3 separate regions of the Homo sapiens genome follow, and regions 2 and 3 are each linked to region 1. The links are contacts of gene promoters, found by promoter capture Hi-C in human tissues and cell types (Jung and others, 2019). All regions are on one chromosome and are shown on one strand. The core of a region is centred on a gene start or on the middle of the fragment in contact, and the rest is flanking DNA. Distances in the headings are between cores, read along the strand shown. Region 1 overlaps MAP4 (microtubule associated protein 4). Region 2 holds the start of CSPG5 (chondroitin sulfate proteoglycan 5). Region 3 holds the start of FBXW12 (F-box and WD repeat domain containing 12).

Region 1 (2,905 bases), core at 311-2,810:
AAAGCTTCTTCACAGGACAGAAAAGCAATCTAAACCAAAAAGAGATATGCTAAAGAAGGAAAACAGAACTAGAAAACAGAATCAGGAGCCCAGGCACGGTGGCTGGCGCCTGTAATCCCAACACTTTGGGAAGCCAAGGTAGGCAGATCACCTGAGGTCAAGAGTTCAAGACCAGCCTGGCCAACATGGAGAAACCCCGTCTCAACTAAAAATATAAAATTAGCCAGGCATGGTAGCGGGCTCCTGTAATCCCAGCTACTCGGGAGGCTGAGGCAAGAGAACTGCTTGAACCCGGGAGGTGGAGGTTGCAGTGAGCCAAGATCGCGCCACTGCACTCCGGCTTGGGTGACAAGAGCGAAACTCCGTCTCAAAAAAAAAAAAAAAAAGAAAAGAAAGAAAACAGAATCAGGAGACCCAGGTTCTAATCTTGACTCTGCCACTTAACTTTGGGTGTGACCTTAAGACTGTTAGAGCTACACTACTCATCCAGAATTAAAAAAAAAAATTGTGCTACATAATTTCTGAAGCCCATTTTAATTTTAAAATTAATTCTGAGACTTTTGACTTATCCATTCATCTTTATAATTCTCAAAAATCTGGTAAAACATAACTTACAAATAAGACTCAGCAGTTATTAGACAGATGAAATACTTGGTCATTTAAGTAGATGAAAGTACTCATTACTTGTCTAAGCCAGAAAAATGACGATGAATTAAAGAACAAACCACAGCATCCTCGGGAAGGTTCACAAGTGGCATATACACTGAGCAGAGGGGAAGAAAAGGTGATGAAACTTGGATAAACGCCTTTTTAAATTAGTAAAAATATTAAAAGCAATATGTTTTTTCATAGGATTAATATATTTGTCTTAGTTCTTGAATCACAAAACACAAATGTAATAAAACAACCCCATTCTGGATTACTGCAGTGAAATTAATCAGAAAATTATAGGAGAAAGATGTTTCTGATGTTCTCAGGTTGAAGGTAGGAATCAATCTCAGAACCTTTGGCTACCTTCAAGAACAGCTTTTCCTTTTTCTTCTTCTTTTTTTTTTTTTTTTTTTTTTGAGACGAAGTCTCACTCTTGTCCCCCAGGCTGGAGCGCGATAGCACAATCTCAGCTCACTGCAACCTCTGCCTCCCGGGTTCAAGCGATTCTCCTGCCTCAGCCTCCTGAGTAGCTGGGATTACAGGCGCCTGCCACCATGCCCGGCTAATTTTTGTATTTTTAGTAGAGACGAGGTTTCACCATGTTGGCCAGGATGGTCTCGAACTCCTGACCTCAGGTGATCCGCCCGCCTCAGTCTCCCAAAGTGCTGGGATTACAGGCATGAACCACTGCACCCAGCCATTTTTCTTCTTTTATTATTATTATTAAATATTCTAAAAAATCTATAGAGGGAAAGGAGGGAGAGAACAGCTGGGCACCAGCAGACATATTTGAGTTCTTACTTTTATTTTATTGAGACAAGATCTCTGCTGGGTGTGGTGGCTCATGCCTGTAATCCCAGCACTTTGGGAAGGCAGAGGCAGGCAGATCACTTGAGGTCAGGAGTTAGAGACCAGCCTGGCCAACATGATGAAACGCTGTCTCTACTAAAAATACAAAAATTAGCCACGCATGGTGGCGCACACCTGTAATCCTACTCGGGAGGCTGAGACAGGAGAATTGTTTGAACCTGGGAGGTGGAGGTTGCAGTGAACCGAGACTGTGCCACTGCACCCAGCCTGGGCGACAGAGCGAGATTCTGTCTCAAAGGAAAAAAAGAAAAAAGGGAATTGTTAATTGAGACAAGGTCTGACTGTCTCCCAGGTATAGTGGCGCAATCACAGCTCACTGCGGCCTCAACTTCCTGGGCTCAAGCAATCCTCCCCTCTCAGCTTCTCCAGTAGCTAAGGACACAGATGTGTGCCACTATGCCCTTCTAATTTATTATTGTTATTATTTTGGGGGTAGAGACAGGGTCTCCATACATTGCCCAGGCTGGCGTTGAACAACTGGGCTCAAGCAATCCTCCGGATTTGACCTCCCAAAGTGCTAGGATTACATGCATGAGCCTCTATACCAGGCCCATATTTGAGTTCTTAACCCTGGCTTTGCCACAGGCTAACCATGTAAATTTGGGACAGCCCTTTCATCTCTCTTAGTCACAGTAATGACCTCTAAGGATACTTGTTCAGTTCTAAAATTATGGTTAAGTAAAAAACATTCTTCAAGTCACATCCTATTTAGAGAAGGTGCACCTATCCATCTATTTCAAAGCTTATAAAGACGATGTGTTTAGGGCTTCAACAACACAAAACATTATTACGGCAAATGTTAGATGCTAATCTAAAGCCTTCCTTACCCATCAAATGAACCCATCCCAGGCTTGTTCCCTACTACTCCAACAGGAAAGTCATGCAGTAAGTATGCTGTCCCCTCATGGCTCCTGCTAGAGCCTGTGCTCCACTCTGCCCCTGTGCCTTTGCTCATGAGATCACTGATCCCCTGCTTGAAATGTCTCCTCCCTGATCCAATTCCAAAGCCACCACTTGGGCCTCATAGCTTCCACAGAACCTCTCTGATGACTTTAATGCTCATTTTCCACTACTTAGCTCTTTTACCATTCACTGTTACTAGGAAAGAATTTAGTCCTTAAGCACATGTTTTCCTGTTAGTCTTTTTTTAAAAAATTAAAAAGCCTTTAAGTATTCTATTTATCATTAAAATTTTCATTATTTTACATGTTAGTAAGTGAACTCATTAATGTTTAAAAAGAAAATACTGTGCTTTTACTACTTTTATTTCCTCACAATGCCTAGCTAACTGCATGAGACAGAATAGTATTCAATAAATAAGTTGCTATCAAATTATCACAAGATCATTATTTGGGCTAAATGATGTAAGTTAAATTCACATTAT
Region 2 (3,022 bases), core at 478-2,977, 360 kb before region 1:
ATCTTCTAGGTCTCCACCTCCTACTGCATCTTTGTCATCCTCCTCTTCCTCCTCCTCTTCATCCAAGTCATCATAAAAGGATGTGGTGGGGTAGAAATCAGATTCATCGAAGGGGGTGAAATCATCGTATAAGTCAAGCAGGCTCCAGGAAGGGGTCTCTCCCTCAGTATCAGGGTGGTTCTCTGAGGTTCCTGGTGACCCTGGGAAGCTCCCCAGATCTGCGCCACGACCCTCACCATCCAGTCCTTCGAAGTAGTCGATGTCAATGATATCTGATGCCGGTTGGGGCTCCAGGGTGCCCTGAAATGGGTAAGTCAGCTCTGGCCCTTGAGGGTCGGGTGTGCTGCCCCCCAGGTTCAGCCAAACCTCCAAGGGGCTCTCCTTGGGGAGTTCAGAAGCTGGGCTCAGCTTGTCGCCGGGGGTGGGGGAGGGTGGCCCGCTGGCCTCTGTAGCCTCAGGAATGGCAGGGGGCATGATTGACTGCCCGAGGACCTCGTGGGGAGCCTGGAGCGTAGCTGGAAGGGCCTGGGCATCGCCGCTGCCCGCCTCTGCGGTCACTCCTCCCAGGCCTGGGCTGTCAGCTTCCAGCCAGGCGGTGCCGGTCACCGCAGCCGACTCCTGCAGCACCTCTTCTGGCCCGGCCAGCTCGCCACCGGGCGCCGTCCACGACGCCTCATCTTCCCCAGCCGCTGGTGGGCCGGCTTCTTCCCGCGTGTCGTTGGCAGGCGGCTCCCACGCCGGGCTGCCCTTCACCAGCTCTTCGGCCTCAACCGCGCTGCCCGCCTCACGCGCTGCGGGCGGGAGGGCAAGGGGCGGGACGTCAGGGCGGCGCGCTGAGGAGCCCTGGAGCCCCGGCCCGCCCCGGTCAGGCCCGCTCGCCTAGACCTGGTCAACCCAGACCTCGCCACCCTCAGACCCCACCGCCCCAGTGTGACCCCAGCCACCCGGTACCTCTAAGCCCCGTCCCGGAGTCTGCCCCCAAGACGAGGATCACACCCCGCCCAACGCCTCGCGGCTCGGCCCCGCCCGACCTGCCCCGCCGTCTGAAGAGCCAGGCCAGGGCGGCCCCCAGCTCGGCCCACCCATAAGTCTCACCCTCGGGAACCCACCCTGAGCCGCGTCCACTGGCTCCCGCCCTCAGCTCCAGGTCCCGCCCCGAAGTCTCACCCTCAGGCCCCGCCCCGGCCCCGCCCCGGCCCCGCCCCCGGCCCCGCCCCCAGTCCGCACCGCGGCCCGCGCGCTTGGGTCCCGGCTACCCCAACCGGGGTCGGCCCCCACGCGGGTCGGCCTTTCCCGGACCCCCACCACCTCCTGGGACCATTCCGCCGCCCGGCCGCGGCCAGGCGGTGCCCCGCCCCCTTGCCACAGCTCACAGCTCCACCTGTCCCCGCCGCCAGCGGGACCCCTGCCCTGGGTGGGGCACGAGGGCCGCGGGGGTCCCGGGCGCAGTCATACCTACCCGGCACGGCCCCAGAGGCCAGGACCAGCGCGGCCCCCAGAAACAGCAGCAGTGGCGGCGGCCCCCGGCCCGGGCCCCCGCCCCCGGCTCGCCCCATGGCGCGGCGCCCCGACCGCTGTCCGCGGTCCGCCCGGCTGGCTGCGCCCTCGGCTCGCCCGGCCGCCGCGCCTCCCGCCGGTTCTGCGGCCGCCTCAGCCCACGATGGGCAGCGCGAGGAGCCGCATGCCGCCGCCGCCGCCGTCCGCCGCTGTCCCCGGCGCGCCGCGCCTCCCCGCCTCCCGCGCCGCCGCTGCCGCCGCTGCGCTCAGCGCCGCCCTCACCCCGCCCGCCGCGCCGGCCCCGCCGCACGTAGCGGTGACGCCGGCCCCTTGGTCAGCCTGCCAGGGGAACAGACAGACCCCTCGCTGGGGACTAGGAGACACACGGACGGGGAGTGCGGGGCAGGCGGACGGGGAGCGCGAGGCAGGCGCACGGCGCGGCGCGCGGCGTTAGGCGGCAGGTGCACGGGCGGGAGACCTGTGGGATGGGGCCACGGTCCCGCCCCAGGTGAACAGGCGGCACGGGGCCCCGACCCGGAGGAACCCACCCGCCACGCGGCAAGCACGGAGGCGGGGACGTCGCGGGCCCAGTTACCCGCAGGGTCGGGGCGGGGTCCAGAAGAGCCGCAGGGGGCGGAAGCACGAGCCCCCACTGTGGAAACAAGCCAGGCCCGGGGCGCATGGAGCCTCTCGGATTCTGCACCAATCCCGTGTTCCGGGCGGGAAGGCTCTCAGGGAGGTCTCCGGGTCTCCACGAGGGAGGGGCGGGCGTTGGCAGAGCCTGGCAAGGGGGCGAAGCCGACCGCCCAGGCTCTAATCGGATCAGATCTAATCCGTTCGCAGCCAAAGCCACTAGCCTAGATCTCGCACAGCCAGGCCCGCCATAACGCATCCCGGGAGCAAGGGGTAAGACCCTCCCTGGGACTGCGGCTACCTCGCCTTCCTTCTAGTCTCCGGGCAGCCTGGGGAGCGGCCTTTAATCCTGGTCCCTTCTCCGGGATACGTCGTCCCCCAGGTGTCTCAGACCACCAAAACTCAGGTTCCTGGGTAGACCAGGGGGGTCTAGATCCCCAGCCGGGCACACATGGATGCTTGGCTTTAGAGTGATCTGTGGGGCCCATTCACAGCTTCAGGGCTCACAGGGCAACCCAAGACCACGCACCAGGAGGTCTGCTTAGTCGGCAGGAGGAACCGCAACCTAGTTACTTAGTTTATTCCCCCAAACCGACCGTCTACCCCTTAATGTGTTACTCACCCAAATGACAGTTCAGGGTATCAGCCCAAGGAGATAGGACAACTCCAGTATTTAAGAGACGGTCCCATTGCTGTCTTAGAAGACCAAATAAGTGACCAAGATGGAGATTCTATCTCCTAATCTTTCTGATACATATCTCCAGATGGAGTTGCCTTGGTTCAAAACCTGTTTCTCAGCAGAACTATGGCTGCAGCCTATTTGCCTAGCCTAGCGTCTCCACCTCTCCTGCCTGGTAAACTCCTCATGCCAGAAAAACTCAGTTCTTATCAC
Region 3 (2,871 bases), core at 372-2,871, 430 kb after region 1:
CTCCTAGACAATGTCCGGACCATTCTCTCACCTGCATCTTATCTTTTGCTTAGACTATTACGCAGTTACCATTTCACATCTCTCAAATTTTACATCTCTTAACTCTTGTGACATTTAGATTTGTCTTCATCTATTGTTGCAATGTGTCTTTCTCTGCCGCTTTTCTGGTAGCACCCCGCCACCACCACCCCCCAACACACCTTCCTGTTCCTCTATTTTTTTTGTTGTTGTTGTTGAGATGGAGTCTCGCACTGTCGCCCAGGCTGGAGTGCAGTAGCGCAATCTCAGCTCACTGCAACCTCCACCTCCCAGCTTCAAGCAATTCTCCTGCCTCAGCCTCCCAAGTAGCTGGGATTACAGGCACCCGCCACCACGCCCAGCTAATTTGTTGTATTTTTAGTAGAGACAGGGTTTCACTATGTTGGCCAAGCTGGTCTCAAACTCCTGACCTGGTGATCCACCCGCCTCGGCCTCCCCAAGTGCTGGGATTACGGGCATGAGCCACTGTGCCTGGCCTCTGTTCCTCTATTTCAAATTCATTCATTCACTCATTCGGCAATTTGCTTCAGTTTCCTTATGTTTGCCTCTTTCTCATCTGTCCTCTTTTCCATTTTATTCCTACTCTGTCTCAGTCCACTTACAGTTATATTTCCTATCTGTGTATTTTATAATATTTGTGCTTTAATACTTTTAAAATATCCTTTATTTTACTGTTTCTTCTCTTCCCTTGTCATATTTTAAAGTGTTTTATTTCTCAGCCTTCTATATCTTTGCATTAATTCTGTTCCTCTACAATAGAGTCCGTTCCAAGCTTTCTGTCTTCCTGTGTCCTTCCACGGCTCTGGCTCTCTCTGCATTATTTCCTATTTATGGAATACAAATCTTTTACCCTTGTATTTTTCTCACTCCTCTCCACACACCCCTTGACTCGCCTTTCCCCACGCCCCTCTAGGTGCTTCTTGGTCTTTGCTTTTCCTTTTTATTTCCTCACCATGTCAATTTGTATTTTTCCTCTCTCTTACTACTGTATCATAAATGGGACTCCCGACAACCACTCCCGTGTGTCTGCCTGGAGGCAGCAGTTTTAAGAAGGGTTGGCCACTGAGCCTCACAGAGGGACCCCTGTCTTATGCTGCAGCAAAGTACCATAGACTGGGTGGCTTACAAACAAATTTATTTCTCACAATTTTGGAGGAGAGAAGTCCAAGAGTCACCTGTCAGCACGGTCAGGTTCTGGTGTGGGCCTTCTTCCAGGTTGCAGCTGACACCTTCTCATGTCCTCGCATGATATGAACAGGGCTAGAGAGCGTTCTGGGGTCTCTTTTATAAGGTCACTGGTCCCATCATAAGGACTCTGCCTGTGACCCACTTACCTCCCAAAGGCCCCCCACCTCCAATCACACCAAGGGTTAGAATTTCAACGTAGGAATTTTGAGAGGACACAAACACCCAGGCTATGACACGGTCTTTAGAAAATCCCAGAATGAGTTGTCAGGTTCTTGGGAGATCTGTAACTGTGGGAAAGCGTCACATCCCAGGGAAAGCCACCAGCTGGGAGAGCCATCCCAGACAAGGCCTGCTCCCTTTGGGCGGACCTCTGTGGAGAAGCCAGCTTGGCACGTTCTTTCTCCTCCACTGCAAAGTTAAATGCGAGAAGGTAGAAACCCAGAGGCCATGCTGGCGCTGAGAGATGAGCCCCACTCACCAGATTCAAGATCCCAAGGTAGGCACAGACACAGGGCAAGCAGACTCCAATTCCAGGAGTTTGGAACTTAAATAGAGTCATAGAGACACTCAGATCTGATCAAAGTGAGTGCACTCGGTGACATTTCCTAAAGGGTTCTGACAACTTCATCTGCAACTGGGGCTGCCCCAGGTTCTGCACCTCCAGCTCACAGCGCACAGGTGTTGCTGAGCTCCTCTAAACAATGAACAGCACTAACAAGTGGGTTTAGGTAGGGATGCCTGCCAGCTGTGTGGATCAGGCCCCAGGGGAGAGGCCGGGGTGGAGGTCAGCCCGGGAGTCTGCACACCTGCAGCTTGTTTCTACCGCACACAGATGGGCATGGGTGAAAATCTTTACAAGTGCTGCAGACTTTGGCAAAGCCTATAAATTCAGAGCAGCCCGGAGAGGAGAAAGGAAAGTGGATGTGGGTTCAGGCCGCATGAAATGGAGATCCGATTGCCTGACTTAGCTTTGAAGCGAATCTTCTCTTTCCTGGACCTGTTCGGCTTGCTGCAGGTTTCCCAGGTGAACAAGGTAAAGGCCTTCCACCTCCCACTGCCCCCCAAGCCCGCTGCTTCTCTCGACCAGTTTGAGCACCACTTTGCAGAATAGCAGAGGGTTACACTGAGGCTTTGGGGGTTAGCATTCTTCATACTGAGGGCCTCATATTCTGTTAAACGAAAAGGACAAGCTGATATCCAGGAGTTGTGCTGACTAAACAGTCCTTGAGGCTCCCATTTCAAGCCCTAGGAAATCAACACTTCTTCCTGTGAATTCATGGGAATACCCAGTGCCTGTATTAGCAGTGATAGGTCTCTGTTGTTACCATTTCCTTATCTCCCCACACTGAGAGTGCTTTGAGAGCTGGAATCCCATCTGATTAACCTGTGCGGGCCCAGCTCCCAGAACAAATAATAGCAGAGGATTACCCTTGCTCTCTGATGTAACTGATTGCCTGCTTGTCTCTTCCTTTCTCTCCCATAGCATTGGAATAGGATTGCAGACAGTGATTACCTGTGGAGGTAAGGGAAGGGAAAGGGCAAGGAGGGAAGGGGAGAGGAGATCATCTGACTGCGCACCCATGCTGTGTCCCAAGGCCTGTGTGGCTGTGTTGTGAGATATACACAGGAAAGTTAGTGTGAGTA

The links. Contacts are between HindIII fragments. The study calls those that stand out against the background at their distance.
Region 2: the fragment with the promoter of CSPG5 here is called in contact with a fragment that was not itself captured in region 1 in 2 of the 25 tissues and cell types used here (bladder and lymphoblastoid cells).
Region 3: a contact is called between the fragment with the promoter of FBXW12 here and a fragment that was not itself captured in region 1, in 1 of the 25 tissues and cell types used here (dorsolateral prefrontal cortex).

Annotation. Positions count from the first base shown.
Region 1 is chr3:47,936,612-47,939,516 of GRCh38, forward strand. All of the region lies in intron 3 of MAP4 (microtubule associated protein 4), which reads right to left. Among named protein-coding and RNA genes, the nearest start is that of MAP4, 78 kb to the right of the region's middle. RefSeq lists a silencer at 2,334-2,534. The HindIII fragment of the contact is 4,708 bases long and covers 1-2,905 here.
Region 2 is chr3:47,577,138-47,580,159 of GRCh38, forward strand. CSPG5 (chondroitin sulfate proteoglycan 5) reads right to left here and starts at 1,728. Exons shown (of 5, transcript NM_006574.4): 1 at 1,460-1,728; 2 at 1-791. The coding sequence starts at 1,556. RefSeq lists silencers at 939-1,028, 1,079-1,138, 1,179-1,228 and an enhancer at 2,353-3,022. The HindIII fragment of the contact is 21,614 bases long and covers 1-3,022 here.
Region 3 is chr3:48,370,598-48,373,468 of GRCh38, forward strand. FBXW12 (F-box and WD repeat domain containing 12) reads left to right here and starts at 1,622. Exons shown (of 11, transcript NM_207102.2): 1 at 1,622-1,723; 2 at 2,087-2,260; 3 at 2,711-2,748. The coding sequence starts at 2,171. The HindIII fragment of the contact is 16,322 bases long and covers 1-2,871 here.